Regions from separate parts of the Homo sapiens genome. Here region 2 is linked to region 1. Evidence: promoter capture Hi-C in 16 types of primary human blood cells and fetal thymus (Javierre and others, 2016). All regions are on one chromosome and are shown on one strand. The core of a region is centred on a gene start or on the middle of the fragment in contact, and the rest is flanking DNA. Distances in the headings are between cores, read along the strand shown. Region 1 holds the start of RIPK4 (receptor interacting serine/threonine kinase 4). Region 2 overlaps UMODL1 (uromodulin like 1).

Evidence for each region. Contacts are between HindIII fragments. The CHiCAGO score rates a contact against its expected background, and 5 or more counts as called.
Region 2: a contact is called between a fragment that was not itself captured here and the fragment with the promoter of RIPK4 in region 1, in 4 of 17 cell types (M0 macrophages, fetal thymus, non-activated CD4 T cells and 1 more). The highest score is 9.2, in M0 macrophages.

Annotation. Positions count from the first base shown.
Region 1 is chr21:41,763,784-41,771,286 of GRCh38, reverse strand. RIPK4 (receptor interacting serine/threonine kinase 4) reads left to right here and starts at 4,235. Exons shown (of 8, transcript NM_020639.3): 1 at 4,235-4,427. The coding sequence starts at 4,246. LOC102724800 (a long non-coding RNA gene) reads right to left here and starts at 4,120. Exons shown (of 5, transcript XR_937745.3): 1 at 4,053-4,120; 2 at 3,270-3,428; 3 at 1,904-2,673. RefSeq lists enhancers at 2,324-2,618, 6,523-7,121, 7,384-7,503, 7,122-7,503. The HindIII fragment of the contact is 2,131 bases long and covers 2,865-4,995 here.
Region 2 is chr21:42,121,642-42,129,144 of GRCh38, reverse strand. It overlaps UMODL1 (uromodulin like 1), which reads right to left. Exons shown (of 23, transcript NM_001004416.3): 17 at 5,995-6,314; 18 at 2,655-2,800; 19 at 1,903-2,139; 20 at 1,314-1,473. Among named protein-coding and RNA genes, the nearest start is that of UMODL1-AS1, 17 kb to the right of the region's middle. RefSeq lists enhancers at 2,847-3,618, 3,619-4,392, 5,720-6,656, 6,657-7,503. The HindIII fragment of the contact is 185 bases long and covers 3,557-3,741 here.

The sequences.
Region 1 (7,503 bases), core at 2,986-5,485:
TGCTCACACCTGTCGTGCAGTTGCTCTCAGGGAAATGAACATGTGCAGGGGCTGGAGATGGCTGAGGGACATTTGCACTGGGAATTTCAGGGTCCCCAGAGCTTTCTTGATCTATGGGGATGGGTGTCTCCTGGCCCAATTGACTCCAGGCACTGGGTAGACAGGAAGGTCCAAGGAACAGCAGACTGGAGCCCTTTAACGTTTGGGGCCGGGGCAGGTTTGCCTCTTGTCCTGGTCAGGGTGGTGCTGGGACACAGGACTGGATTGAGTGTGCTGTGGGGGCCATGGGCTACTCTGTCCTGGCCTTCAGAATGGAAAGGGCTCATTCACAGAAACAGGAGATGCTGGAAAGAACCAGTTTGGGGGTGAAAAGCATAGGCTTATCTCAAATGGGTAGCGGTGCCTTAGGTACATCCTACTGTGGGCACCATGTTAAGTTTTGGGGGTTTGAGGCTCAGAGGAAAGGTCTGGCCTGCAGACAGAAGCTTAGGGATCTTCGTAGAATACATGGAAGCTGAGGTGAGCCTGGATGAGCTGCCTGGGGAAAGAGGGGAGGATCAGGGAGGCTCCAAATTGGTGTTTTAAGAAGCCCCACATTTAAAGACTATGGAGTGGAGCATGAGGGTGCAAAGCAGATTAGAACGTAGCATTACTACAATTATAATTCATCCCCCATCTGCTTCATGGCTTCTGCCATCAGACACAAGCCCCTAGGTTGCTGAACAGCACCCTTTATGCTGTGTTCCCAGGACACGGAATGTATGATCCTGCAGGAAGACTCATGGAACCAATGGGTCAAAGGAGGAGCTGTCTCTGATAAGGAAGTGTTTGTGTAAATAGAAAATATTTGCTTGAGTAAGAGCGAGGAGTTGGGTGTCAGGTGGAGATGGGTCTCCCAGAGGTGGTCTGGGAGCCCTCGCGAGTCAGGCCCTCAATGTCTCCCCTAAATCACTTTGTCAGAATTAGTGAAGGCAGAATCTCTGCAGTGAACAAGTTATGTTCTTTTAGAAAATAACACAATGCGGAGGGAATTCTCAAAAACAACCATGCAAGTGGTGGCAGGAGTGGCTGTTGTAGGGGAGGGAGGAGCCTACTAAGCAGGGAGGAGGCTGGGTGCAGAGGCCTGGCGGGAGGGGACTATGTTCCCAGGTGGCTGACCCAGCTCAGCTCCACGCCCCTGTCCCATGGTCATGCCAGCAGGTGGACCCCAGGGGCTCCAGCTTTATTCTGGGGCCTCTGAGAGCCAGGTCAGCCCTATGTCAGCTCCACGATCTCACTGAGCCATGCACTTACAAGGGTTGAGTTGCTCCAGGACCCTGAGAAGGACAAAGACGAAAATGACTCAATTGAAAATCTCACTATTCACCCATGGCCTGGCATGTGCCACACACATATAATTATCATCTGCGTGGATCCCCACCGACATCTCGAAGCAGGTCCCTCTATCCCACATGTCAGGGACAGGCAAATGCACCATGGTCACAGCCTGGGACCCCATCTGAGGCAGGCTGGCTGCAAACCCAGAGACGTCTCTATCCTGTCTTCTCCCTGGCCGGCAACCTTCATTGTTCCCTGCGGTAGGATGTTAAAGGCAGCTTCCTGGCACTTCCAGACCAGGGACCTTGGGCTGCCTGCTGGGTGGGTCAGTGCTAAATGGCCCCCTATGAAGAAGGGCACAGCTTGGGGACCTGGAGCTCAAGGGATCACCTATTTAGATTCGCTGTCAGGACATCCAGTATAGGAGGAAACTGGCTTGGAATTCTTCTGGGGAAGGGGCCAGGAGGAACACAGGGTAGTGGGGGAGTGGGGGCTTGCAAATGTCAGCAGACAGCCCCCTTCCCCAACTCCTCCTTCCCACCTCCCACCCCCCATTGTCTCCCCTCGTCGTCCCTCCCCTCCTCACCTGCACTGCACTCCCAGGCGGGTCAACAGTCTCTCCGTGGAGCTTCGTGCCCTCGGGGCTTACCTCCTAAAAACCTTCAAGTCTGCACCCCTACTGTGCCTCCGTGGCTGCGCCCTGCTTTCCACCCAGGATCTGTGCTGATTGGTTTGTTTGTAACCACACCGGGCACGTTGTCCATGCAGGCACTTCATGAGGTTAATTAATGTTGTCCCATGAAACCTCAGGACAGCCACCTCCCAACTTGCCCTATTATTCATTTCATCTTTTTCTTTAAATCGTTCCACTTTTCTTTGGCCCTAAAATGTATTTAAAACGAAACTAAATTACTTTTATACTTGGAAATTCTAACCTCACCAGCCTGGGACCAATGACTGTTAACATAAATAGCAGCTGCGCTCCCGGAATCCCAGAGGGTCTGGAACTCGAATTCACAATTCCTGGAAAGGTGTTTGTTTTCGTTTTACCAGTTGTCATGTGAATCGGTAAAGCACTTCAAAGTCCGCAGAGGAGCCGGATACCAAACCAGGTTCCTGCCGCCGAGCCCGTGATCTTTGGACCCGATCTGCTCACAGCTGGGAGCTGGCTCTTTTGGTCTCCAGGGGGCTCTGGTCTTCAGTCCCAGGCACCAGGCACTGAGCTAGCAGCAGACACTCCATAAATATTTGTCAAATGAAGCACACAGATGATTAAATAAATGAAATTGGAGCGTTTTATTACTTGCGTGGTGTGGGCTCTTAGTCACCCCCAGCTGCGGAGCTGTGTGCCGGAGACTGTAGATGGAGAAAGGTACTTTGCTAGAGCTGAGCCCCGGGAACAGGACAGGTGACTCACTTTCAAGTCCATTCATTTTTTTCCCACCAAAATAATAACTATGTTTACTTCCAAGGTATCTTCGTAGATTCAAAACTCCAATTATTTTTTAAAACATTAGTCCAAATGTAAGTTACATTTGTGACAAGCTTAAAACAACTATTTGCCACTCCAGCCTTAAGGAGACCAACTTTAATTTCCGGAGTATGTGGGAAAGGAAGTGGCTCCCTGGTCCCCCCAGGAGGCCCCCCGAGCAAGCATCGTCATGTTGGGATGTGTGAGTTCCCTCCAAAGAGCGGCCGGATGGGAGTGGGGAGGCAGTGGGGAGACGCGGCTCCCCGCTACAGGCTATGAAAGAAGGTCCGCGCCCGTTTGGAAGGGGGAGCCTGGAGACACTAGGTCTGCGGCTTTCAATGCGCTGACTTGGGGCAGCCTCTCTCTTTCCGAGTTACTAACACAAAAACACAGTTAATGTCGTTAAAATACCCTCTCCTTTAGCTCCGCCCTCCTGTCTTCATTATTAATCTCCTGTGGCCAAAAATAAGCCTTCACTCACCGTTGCGTCTCAGGAATGAGTGAGTGTTTTCTGAGGTGTGGACGCGTGCGTGATCTGTGATGCACTTCGGCCTCTAACCCAAATATCCTTCCAAGGCTGGGAATTTTTTTTCCCCATATGTGAAAAAAAAATCTTTCCTTTTCAAACCATCTGTTCTACCTGTAAAAAGAGGCTGTTATTTAGGAAAGGATGAGGGAACTCTTGCATTTGAAATGGACTTTAGATTTGCTGTTGGGTAATTTTTTAAAAAAAGTTACTTTCTGAGAGGAAACTCGTGTAAAAAAGCAAGACGTGAACCTGCAGGGAATTAGACTAACGAGTGAAGAAAGCCAATTTCAAAAAATTAGGCGCTGTATGATTCCTGTATCTAAACATAACATTTCTGAAATAAAACAATTTTAGAAATAGAGGAAAGATTAGTGATGCCAGGGCTCCGGGGTGCGGCTGTAAAATCGCCACAGGAGTGGCCAGGTGGGGGTGGATACGGGAAGGTACACAGATGATTACATTGTGTAAAACTAATACATGCAAAGGAAGACGAGTAAAACGGCAAAACTGAATAAGATCGGTGACTGTATCAAAGTCAATATCCTGGTTGTGAGATTGGACTTTTTTTTTTGGCAAAGTTTTGCAAAGTGGTAACACTGGGGGAAACTAGGCAAAGTGAATGATTTCTTACAACTGCATGTGACTCCGCAATTAAGGAAAAAAAAAAAGCAAAGAAAAGCAGGGCAGCTGATGCGCACGTCGAGACCCGTGAGAAGCGTGAGAAGCTCTGCTCACCCAGGGGAGAGCGCAGTGACCCGCAGCGTCTATTCATCCGTCCGCAGTCACCGGGCGCTGGCAGAGAGGGCGCCCGGGGGGCGGGTAAGTGGGCGGGGCCTGGGGGCGGGACGACCTACGGAAGTGACGTAACAGGGCGGAGCGCGCACCTGGGCACCTGGGCAGCCGCCGCGGCGCTGGCTAGACGTGCGCGATGGAGGGCGACGGCGGGACCCCATGGGCCCTGGCGCTGCTGCGCACCTTCGACGCGGGCGAGTTCACGGGCTGGGAGAAGGTGGGCTCGGGCGGCTTCGGGCAGGTGTACAAGGTGCGCCATGTCCACTGGAAGACCTGGCTGGCCATCAAGTGCTCGCCCAGCCTGCACGTCGACGACAGGTGAGCGGCCCGGGCGGGGCGCTGGGGCGGCTGGGGCCCGGGCTGGGGTCGGGGTCGGGGTGCTCTGGTCCCGGGGTCCTGCCTCTCTCTCCCGAACTCACCCCCGGAGCAGCTTCGGGGGGGAAACCAATTGCCGGCGAGGCCGCGGGGCTCCGACAATGTCCACTCGGCCTGTCCGGGCCGGAGGGGCGCGGGGGCTTTGGCGAGCCCGGGCTCGATCGCGCACGTCGGGGCCGGGTCAGGCGGCTCCTCTGGGGCTCCTCTGGGGCTCCTCGGGGGCCGCGTCTGCCCGGACGTCCTAAGGCGCCCAGTCGTGCTTCCTGACACTCCCCGAGTGGCCCTGGTTTTCGGGGTCTCCAGCTCGCCTTGCGCCTCGGACCCGCGCCCTTGGGAGGCGCGTCCGGCCCGCCCGGGACCCACCGGGGCGCTGCGGTCTGCGCAGGGCTTAGAAAAATTGCCATGTGGGCCTCTGGGCTTTGTGAGTGGAGTTAGCCTCCGTTCGACTTACTTAGTAATTTACGTTGGAACACAAATTGGTGTAAGACTGTAATTATTTCGGTCGGAAGCTTCGGCTTGGCTCGGGCGAGGCTTCCCGGGCGCCCGGCGCTTGCGCGGTGGAGCTCCGGGGCTCGGGCCTGGCAGTGGGGTCCGGCACGGGGCCCGGGGTGTTGATCCGTCCGCCCAGCGCTTCCTCGCCGCACACTCTCGTTTTAGCTGACTTAATTTCGAGACCGACCCGCTAGGGAAGGGCCTTGCATTCAAGTTCTGTGGCCGTGCCATGGGGCCCTCCTGCACCCCAGTTTCCCAGTCCAAAAGTCAGAATGGAACCTGCCTGTACCTACCTAGCAGGAGTGTTCAAGGTAACAAAGACGAATGGGAAGGACGCAGAGCCGCCCGTGTTAAATTCGGTGGGTCGGTTGTCGTCTGTGCATAATTTGAGAGGTAGGGAGAATGTTCTTGAACAGTACCTCTTTGTTGTTGTAGATTTCACTGTTTACAGTTGATTTTGATGGTTCATATGTAAGGCTCAATTTAGCACGTTTTAATTATTTATCCTTTAATGAAGCTTACCTTCTACATGGAAGCTATGCTTGTATTTTACCTAGAGATTCCTTGAACACATACACTCAGAAGCGACACCTTTTTAAAATACCATTTAGCCTTTGCTGCCTGGCAGACCTGGTTTCGAATGCTCGGCTGATTGAGTGATGGGGCCGCTAAGCCCCAGCTTTTCTGCAGAATCGTTGTGATGCCTGTGTCTGGGGTGGCAGTGCGTGCTGCAGCCCCATACCGTGACTGTGACGCCTCTGTGGATGAGAGGCCTGTCCTCTCCCTTTGCATTTTCGTCCTTGGCTAGGAGACTACACAGCAGAGATAGTGGTGGCTTTTTGCCGTAACCCTCAAATCCAGTGTTTCTTGGAAACACCAGTAGAGTGGTGACGAGTGTCATCAAATCACCACTAGTTCAAAGGTGAGATGCTGGCCCAGGCTGTGCACTTTTTCTCCCCTGCCTCAGATTCTGGGAACTTCTCAGGCCAGGAGGGGTGCTGTGGTTATTTTGATGAAATCCAAACCACTTTGAATACCAGCCAGTGGTTAGGTTCTGAAAGGGAACCCTCTCCATAGGGGCATTCGTTTTATCTCTTGGGGATGTGTGTGAGCTTTAATCATCAGTGAAAATTTTCACACCACTTTCTTATATTGGAAGAGCAAAGTAAACAAGCACCTACCTGGACTGACTCACCAGCTCACATCCTTAGGATCTTCTGTTATTTCTAGCGACCAGTCCCTTATTTCTTGGGTGGCCTGGTTGGAGGGAGGCTTTCTCCACTTAAGGTGGATCACTTAGGATATTGCATAGCTTGGTTGAAAAGTGTTTTGTACTTTAACTGGAAGCCTTTCCTACCCTGCCCAAAGCAGACAGGTGGTGGCATGTCAGGTGGCTAGGTCGAGGTCAGCATCGCCTAGCAGGAAGCATTTCACCTCCTGTGCTCTGCTGGGCCTGGTAGAGTAGGTTGGGGCTTTGCCATGTGCAGCAGTGGCTGATCTTTCTGAGAAGTTGGTCAAACCCTGGCTCTTTGTGAAGCTGATTCCTTTAGGTTAATTATTGACTGTATTGAGCCTGAGGTTCTTGTTAGGAATGTACATCAGTCCCACTGTGCTCCAGGAGCTGGTTGCATTGCAGTCTCACAAGGTTGTACCTAGGCCTTGAAGTAGTCGCTGTGCCACTTGCCCTGCCACATTTCTCAGTGCTTTTCTGACGAGCTGCCTCCCACCCCAGCCCCTCATATTTGCAAGATGTTCCCTGAATTGGGGCATAGGATTCTCCTAGGGTCTTTGTGTGCAGCCCCCGGCCCTGTACCCCTTCTGCCTAAGTCTTGCTTCTCTTCTCGGAGGGACAGCCCCTCTCACCCCTGACACACGGGTCTGGGCCTCTTCCAGGCTGCTGGGGGTCAGTGATGGTCTAGTCCACTTGTTACATAGGAGCCACCACAGGTACAGGTGCAGGTGAGGCTGATTTTCACTGGCCAACGCTGCTTGCCTCTCAAGGTGGTCTGGGGTCTCCTGGCTCCCTGCAGCTCCCCTGGGCCAGGCCTTCAGCCGGCCCTTGGCCACAGCACCTGCTCGGGGCTTGTTTGATGAGCAGGCTGCGCCAGGCCATGTGAGCTTGCTTTTCTGTGCAGGAAAGGTTGGGGGGCCGCCCAGCCCCCAGACACTTAGCGAGGCTCCCAGGGACAGGAAGTGCCTGCCAGGGGGCCCTCCTGGGAGTTCACAGGTGACACCCCATTGATCTGAGATTACCTTCATCATGGGGCTCGGTGCCTCGGAGGGTCCTGTGGGGTGGCTTTGGAGAGGCAGCTGGCCTCCCTGGCTGACCCTCATTGTGGGGGTCACAGGGCCTAGGGTGGGGTGTAGGGATGGGTGCTGTGACCAGTTTGGAGAGAATAAAGTGATCCCAAAGGCCCCGTTCCTCCCCTACCAGCCCCCAGCTAAGGGGATGCTCAGAAGAAGCCAGTGCCTGCGGGGCGCCGGCTGGGAGACGCTCCTGCCACATTCAGCCCTGGCTGGTCGGGGC
Region 2 (7,503 bases), core at 2,400-4,899, 360 kb before region 1:
CTATGGCTGGTGTCCCTCTGTAAAGGGGAAATTTGGACACAAACATAGATGTGTACTGAGGGAAGGCAACACCGAGAGACAGGGCAAATGCCGTCTACCAGCCAAGGAACGCCCGAGGCCACCAGAAGCTGGGAGAGAGGCCTGGGACAGATCCTTCCTTTAGAACTCTCAGAGGGAACCAGCCGGCTGACACCTCCATCTTGGACTTCCTGCCTCCAGAACAGAGACAATAAGTTTCCACTGTTTAAGCCGCTCAGTTTGTGGTACGTTCCTACAGCAGCCCGGAAAGCTCATACACTATCTATCCATCCTAAAGGAGCTTGAAAAACACACTGTGTGCCGCTCCTCTTGTAAAGAATTCTCTTGTAGAGAACTTGAGAGCCAGCCGCTCCCTGCAGAGACGAAGCCTGGCGGTGGCTGTCCGTGCTCCTGTCATCTCTGAGGCTCCAGTGGAACCAGGGGCAGGCTCCTCGTGTGTGGCCCTCAGCCTGCTGTCATTAGGACCTGAGGTTCCTTCTGTCCCATTGCTCAGGAAGATCTAGTGTTTGAGCAAAACAGACATGAACAGAATCAGCCTTCCTTGTGTTGCTTCTCTATCCACGTCCTGCAGACGCTCAGAGCTTGGTCACCCAGGAAAACAGCTCAGATGAGAGCAGGAACAAGCACTACCTCCGAGGAGAGAGAAGCATTCGGTCACTGAGCAAAAAGCAGCGGAGCTCCCTAAGCTGTCCCCTGCCTCAGACAACAGGCGACCAACATGTGGGAACCTCATGTACTTGTCTGTGATATAAAGCACAGTTTTCAAACCTCAGGATTACAAAGCATATTTCAAATTCAAAAATCTAAGGAAAACAGGAATGTAAAATTATCCCTGCATGATTGTTGAACAAAGGAAAGGGGAAAAAACTTTATTAAATAACAGAGTGTCTGATATTTAGTATGTTCCATCAATGTTGTTAAAAATAATATTTAAAAAATATTTTTACACCTATAAATCACCTTAGAAGCACTAGGTATCATGGCAAGGCAGTGCTGACGCGACAGCCGGTTGAATATTATGGCCTCAAGAAGGAACTCAGCTCAGCCATTGAGAAATGGGAAATGCCCACCAGTCCACATGAGTCCTCCGTCCAAGGGCTGCCTGCCGTGGAAATACCATTTCAGACGCGGAGTCTGCAGGACAGGCACAGCGACTCCTCCCAGAGGTTGGCCCCGAGCCACTCGAGCCCTAGGTTTTTATTAACAGAGCCTCGAACCGTAACAATAAGGAACGTGAATCCAACCAAACGTTTAGAAAACCAAAAAACACTTACGATTTTGCACGTGGCTCCGGGGGATTCCATGCAGACGCGGAGTTTGCAGTGCAGGTAGACGATGGAGTCGTTGATAAAGGAAAAGATCCTCAGCTTGAACTGGGCCTTATTGGAGTTGCCGTTCTCAATCACGTTGGTGTATGTGTTGGGCACAGGGCAGCTGAGAAGAGAGGAAATGGGACTCCTTGCTTGTCAGCGAGCCCCGCTGTCCTTGTTCTCAGATGAGTTTACTCACGACTACATCTGACGACACTCGCAGATTCCACAGGCTCCGTGGAAGTCGAGGACCGGGCACCTCATTTGTTCCCCAAAACCCAGGTCCATGACAGCACTCGCCTGGAAATCCTGCAGAGCCCAGAGCTGGCCACACAGCAAGGCCAGGCAATGGCAGTGCCTGCTTGAGCCCTACCTGTTCTTAATGAAGCCCTGGGCATTGCTGGACAGGGGTGCCTGCACTCCTGAGCCCTACCTATTGTTAATGAAGCCCTGGGCATTGCTGGATGGGGATGTCTGCATTCTTGAGCCCTACCTATTGTTAATAAAGCCCCAGGCATTGCTGGATGGGGGTGCCTGCACTCCTGAGCCCTACCTGTTGTTAATGAAGCTGAAGGTGATGGGGTCCCGGGCGTTGCTAGACGGGGTTGCCCAGCACTCCGTCAGGACCACCTTGAGGTTGCTTTTCTGCCTGTAGAGCCCCACTTCGATCCTGACATCGTCACTGGCAGACACGCTATAATTCTGAGGTATGGGAGAGTCTCCGATAAACAACTGCATTTCGGTAACAAAATTCCCAGCGCCGTGGAGGTCCTCGATGATGGTGTAAACCCTGCAAGAGGAAGCAGCTTGCAGGAGGCATGTTTCAGGAGGCGCATTATCGTGGCCCCTCCCATTCCCACTTCTCCCCTAAAACACAGCTCCAGAGGAACGTGCAAATGAACGAGAAGACCCCCTCAACCCCAAACGAGAGCACTTGGAGGCCATTTATTCAGGGCTGGCTGGTCCAGGGGTTGCCTCCCTCAGTTGTATAGGTGGAGACTCAGTGGAAGGTGGGGGGTCCATTATAGAAAAAGTGGTGCCTGATGGAGGCTTGGGTGGCGGCCTGCCAGTGGCTCACTGGAAGTGGGGCCATCCCATGGGATTGGCCACGGGACATATTTGGCCTTCTCTGGCTAGCCCTGAGTGGGAAGAGGGAACAAAATTTGGGGAGCAGCCAGGCCACACCCATTTGTATATTCCATCTCAAGGAAGGGTCCTTAAGTGGTTGACACCCTAAAGAACTCTCAAAGCGCAGGTGGTCTGGAGGCACGTGGCTGTGGGGCAGCCGGGGCATTTCTCCCTTACCCCCACTCCAGGGTGAAGCCGGAGGATGTCAGCAGGTCATTCTGGAAGGCGCAGTAGATGGGGCTCAGGATCTTCAGGTGGTGGATGATGCCCTCCTGGGACAGGTCGTTCCTCAGCGTGGTCCTCACCACGGTGTTCGTCATGTTCTGAGCACAAAGCGGAGCATGAGGAGCTCCCAGGCCCCAGCCGGCCCCCCACGCCCTGCTGTGGGCCACGGCTCTAGGTGCTGGGGGGATGGGGGTTCTTCTCTAAAGCCTCTCCCCAGCAGCATCGAGATCCTGGCGATTCTCCCAACCATAAACTGCCTAAGAGCCTAAGGGCTCGGCCTCTGCTCATTCCCTATTGACCAGAGGAGGCAGCACCTGAACCTGTGGGGATTCCGTGGCAGCTGCACAAATAAGTCTTTCTGGGAAACTTAGTTTTTGACAAGTGTCAAAAACCGTCAAGAGCTCTTGTGGATTTCAGGGACTGGGTGAGTCATCAGAGACAAATTCCCTTTTCTTTCAACATGCCCCAAACCCTGCTGCATTTAATAATCAAGCCAAGCATTGGTCTGGTTCAGAAAAACACAGAGGGAGCTGCCGGCTGCAGGCTCTGCCCAGGGCCCCAGTCCTGGGAGGCGCTGTCTCTCCACTGGAGCTGCCGCTGTGTGGGTGGCGATCTGAGCACCAGGCAGGCTGTCCTGCACCCTCAGCCCCTCCACTTGGCCCCGCAGCCCTGCAAGAGCCCTGCATAGGCTTGAGGATGCCGCTGTGGCCCGGCCCACATGCACCTCTCACCCCAGACCTCCCTCACCAGGGAAACTGCCGAGAAGCCACAGGAGCCACTGATCACCGCCCATCCCCCTTGCAGACACCCCCCTGCTGCCAACGCTCGGCCTCCAGGTGGCCGTCTAAGAAGCTTTGAGGGAGAAAACTAATTCTGGGCAGTTCTGCTTAAGTTGTGCCATTTGAGGGGCTGAAGGGTGAGGAAGGTTTTGTAGCTGTTGAAACAGTGCAGGTTACTCCTTCAGCCCAGGGAGGATCTGAAGAGCCCCCGAGGGGGCGGAATGAGCTCGGCAGAGTGAGCTGTGCCTCCCAGGCAAGCTTGTGCTCTGCAATGGCCTCCGACGCGTCCACGTGAATCCCTCAGCTTCCTGGCCACCCTCAGTCCCAGCTCCAGGCTCCAAGCAGGCTCCACACCATGGAATCACCTTATGCCCCACCTCCCCACCTCATCCCTCAGCCCCTGGGGCTTTCTGGCCTCTGCTCCCCAGGGCTAGCTCCTTACTCAGCCCCAAGGTCCATGTCCCAGCCTCCTGCTCAGGACGTCCACCCGGTTCCCACTTTGTCGGCTCCCAGACATTGACACCCCATGCCAGGACTCTGGGTTTCATCTGACAGCTTTGACCCATCCAGTGCCAGAGGCCGCCCTGTCCCCACTAAGGAGTGTGTCCAGACCCCCAACCAGAAGCAGCACCCCCTCAAGGCTCCTCAAGAGGCAGAGCCACAGGGACGGGGCTGCTTCTCGGTGTCAGGTTGACTTTGACCCTGAACTCCCATGGACCCTGCCGAGCACCCAGGGCTCAGCCGCAGAGCGTGGATGATGATGCCTGACCCATGCGGTCGCTAAGGGACTAAACATCATCATGCATGTAGAACTCTCAGCCAAGCAGGTCCACGGTGGTTTCAGGGCACCACCCCAACCAATCCCTTTTTTTAGAATGCAATGCCTTGGACTGCTCAAAGGTCCTGAGGGACAGAAGCCCAGGGCCCAGAGTTCCCGCCAACGACCAGGAACCACCATTCCTGCCTAGCTCCCGATGAGGACAATGTCCCCATTAGGAGAGCCTTCTGGCCCTGGCTCCTAGGCCAGGCACTGCTCCCTGCTCAGCCCCATCCACAGCCCCACTTTCCCACCAGGCCTCATACCCCACCCTGCCCATGAGTGTCCACCCTTCCATCCCTGCCCACCTGACCAGAACCACTCGGACAGACTCTTAACTCCGCCATGGTTTCCAGCCTCCCTCATCTAGCCACCCCCGGCATGGCCCTTGGATACATTCACAGCTCTCTCACTCACCCTTGGAACGACGCTGGCCTCCTTTCTAGGTCGAGCCCCTTCCCAGAAGGCCACTTCCCCAACCCAGAGCCGGCACGGGCTCCCTCTGAAGCCGCCGGCCCCTCCAGGCAGCTTCCCTGATCCACCCTGCACTCCCAGGCCCATGCGGCCCAGGCCCCTGTGTCCAGTACCAGGCTGAGCTGGTGGAAGGTGCTGGCTCTCCCCTCCTCTTGTCCCCCAAGCAGGGCCCTGAACACGAAGCCTTTGTGCTCCATGTGGCCAAGTGGGGTTGGAGACGAACAAGGGCCTGCATGGGAGCGTTCGCTGTGACACAGAGGCACCCTGGGAAGAAGCAGGACCTGGAGCCAGGTCAGCTACCTCATGGGTGCCACACACTAGAGGCTCAGAGTAGACCCAGGACGCACTGGCCCAGAGTCACCTGCAAGGGGAGGTGCCAGAGCCCATCTGTGCACACAGAGGTGCGAAGGCCTCAGGCCAGGAAAACCCACTTTCCCCACCTGGGCTCCCTCTGTCCCGGGAGCCCCACAGCCCATCCAGGACCCTGAAATAGAGAATGTTCGCTAGGAACACAGTCCCTCCGACAGAGCAGTTCTGACTAATGCCATCCAATGCCCCCCAAACACACACCCATACATACACACTCACACATGGACAAACGCATCCACACATGCTCAACTCACGCACACATGCACACATGCACATAGACACATTCTCACATTCACACACTCACACATTCATACATGCATGCACACCCACACGCACACAAGCACGCGATACACATGCACACACACACGCACGTACATATAAGCACAGCCATGCATATACACATACACATTCGCACACACAGATTCACACATTTACACACATTCACACACATGCACACCCCCACATACACAGACATATTCAGACACATGCACACATGCACACACGTACACTCACACACACACACTCTCATATCACACAGGACTCCTTGGCTTTCCTGCCTCTTCCTGTCCCACTGCCTCTCATCCTGTCTGTGCAGGGAGGAGTTTTAAGCCGTGACTCTGAAGCCTGCCCCAGCACTCTGCACCAGAGTCCCTCCTGGGTGGACTCACAGCTCCCTTCCGATTCTGGGGTGCAGGCTGGTCCCTGGTTGAGAACTCAACCCTGTCCTGAACCCCCCTTGCTGGGTTCCCCTCGGGGTGCAGAGTCTTGCCTGGCCCTCCCACATCGAGGCCCATGTAACCTAGAGCCCCTTGCGCCCTAGTGTACATCCTGAGCCTGGCTCTCCTGGTCTTACGCTCTGCATGAGGGTCCCACACTCGCTCCAGCCGGCCTCCAGGAGCACGTGTGTGCCATTGCTGTGGCTCACGTTGCAGGAGGGGTGGCTGAGGTACAACGAGGACTCGGGGATGGATTCCTGCTGCAGGAAGCGCTTCTGGATGGCGACAACCACCTTCTCGATCTCACAGAGCACCCTGACTGCTCCGGTCAGGTTCAGCCGCTGGGGCAGGCCTTGGGGGGTGGGGCTGGTGCCTTGCACAAAGGCAGCCTTGGTCCCTGCTGTGGTGAGAGGCCTCTCTGGGCTGGTGGCCCAGGTTTCATTGCCAGGAGAGTCACCTGCAAGGCACAAGGAGGAAAAGGCAAAGAGTGGCTCTGTGTTTGGGGTTGGCATGGAGGGGCAGGGGTAAGGAGCAGACTGGAGCTGCCCTGCACTCTGCAGCAGCCACACCTGGGAACCGCATGTTCCAGCCACAACTACACACGTGCACACACACACACACACACGCACACATATGCACACACACGTACACACACGTGCATGCACACACATGCACGCAGAGATGCACACACATGCACACACATGCACACACGCACGCACACACGTGCAGACACACACACACGCACACATGCACATGTTGCACATTTCCACCAGCTCAGGGATCCAGGCTCACCATGGGCCCCCGAGGGCCAAGGACCGAGGGACCTGATGCCGGGGATGTGCCAAGCCAGTGGATACAGGGTGAGTCTTCTGCCCTGAGAGCCCTGAGTCTATTCTCTAAGATGGGGTAATGATGCCTCCTCTTGAGGTCCTTGTGCCCAAACTTCCCACTCCAGCTCCCTTCTTGCCCCCAGAGCAGGTTCAGTTTCAATGCCTAGGAGAACAAGGGGCCCGGAAAGCTTTCCAATCCACCCACCTGTTCTCGGGGTGGTCTATATGGAAGCAGACCCCAGACACAGCTCCGCACGTGCCCTCCACCCTCCTTCAGCAGTGGCTCCATCATCTGTGGGCCTGGTTTGTGCCTTCTTTTATCTCAGAGTGGGGCTTGCCCAGCCCCAGCACCCTGCAGCTCCACCCAGCTCACTCCTGTCTCTGGGCCATAGTCCAAACCATTGCTGAGGACTTCACAGTTGGCTGCTGCCTCACCCGCCTCCCTGGGCAGCCTGCTTCTCGCTCTCTGCCACCCATCTCCTGCAGGTCCCTGCATGTGAGATCACGCCCATCACCAGCTCTGTTCTCACCACGGCACCCACCCACCATGCCCTGCCCTCCCTGCTGGGTGCCATCTTAGCTATCCATTAAGACCAGCTTCAAGACACCACTTCCAGGAAGCCCTCCCTGGCCACACTCACTGGACTGAAGCAACTTAGCCTCCTCTGTGCTTCCTGATTCTACCTCAAGCAGGACACGTTCTATAGCCCCCCGGATACCACACTCACTGGTATAAATGCCCACCTCCCTTCACTTGACGCAGATTCCTGGATAGCAGTGGCCAACGTGGGGTCAGTGTTAAATCCACTAAGACCC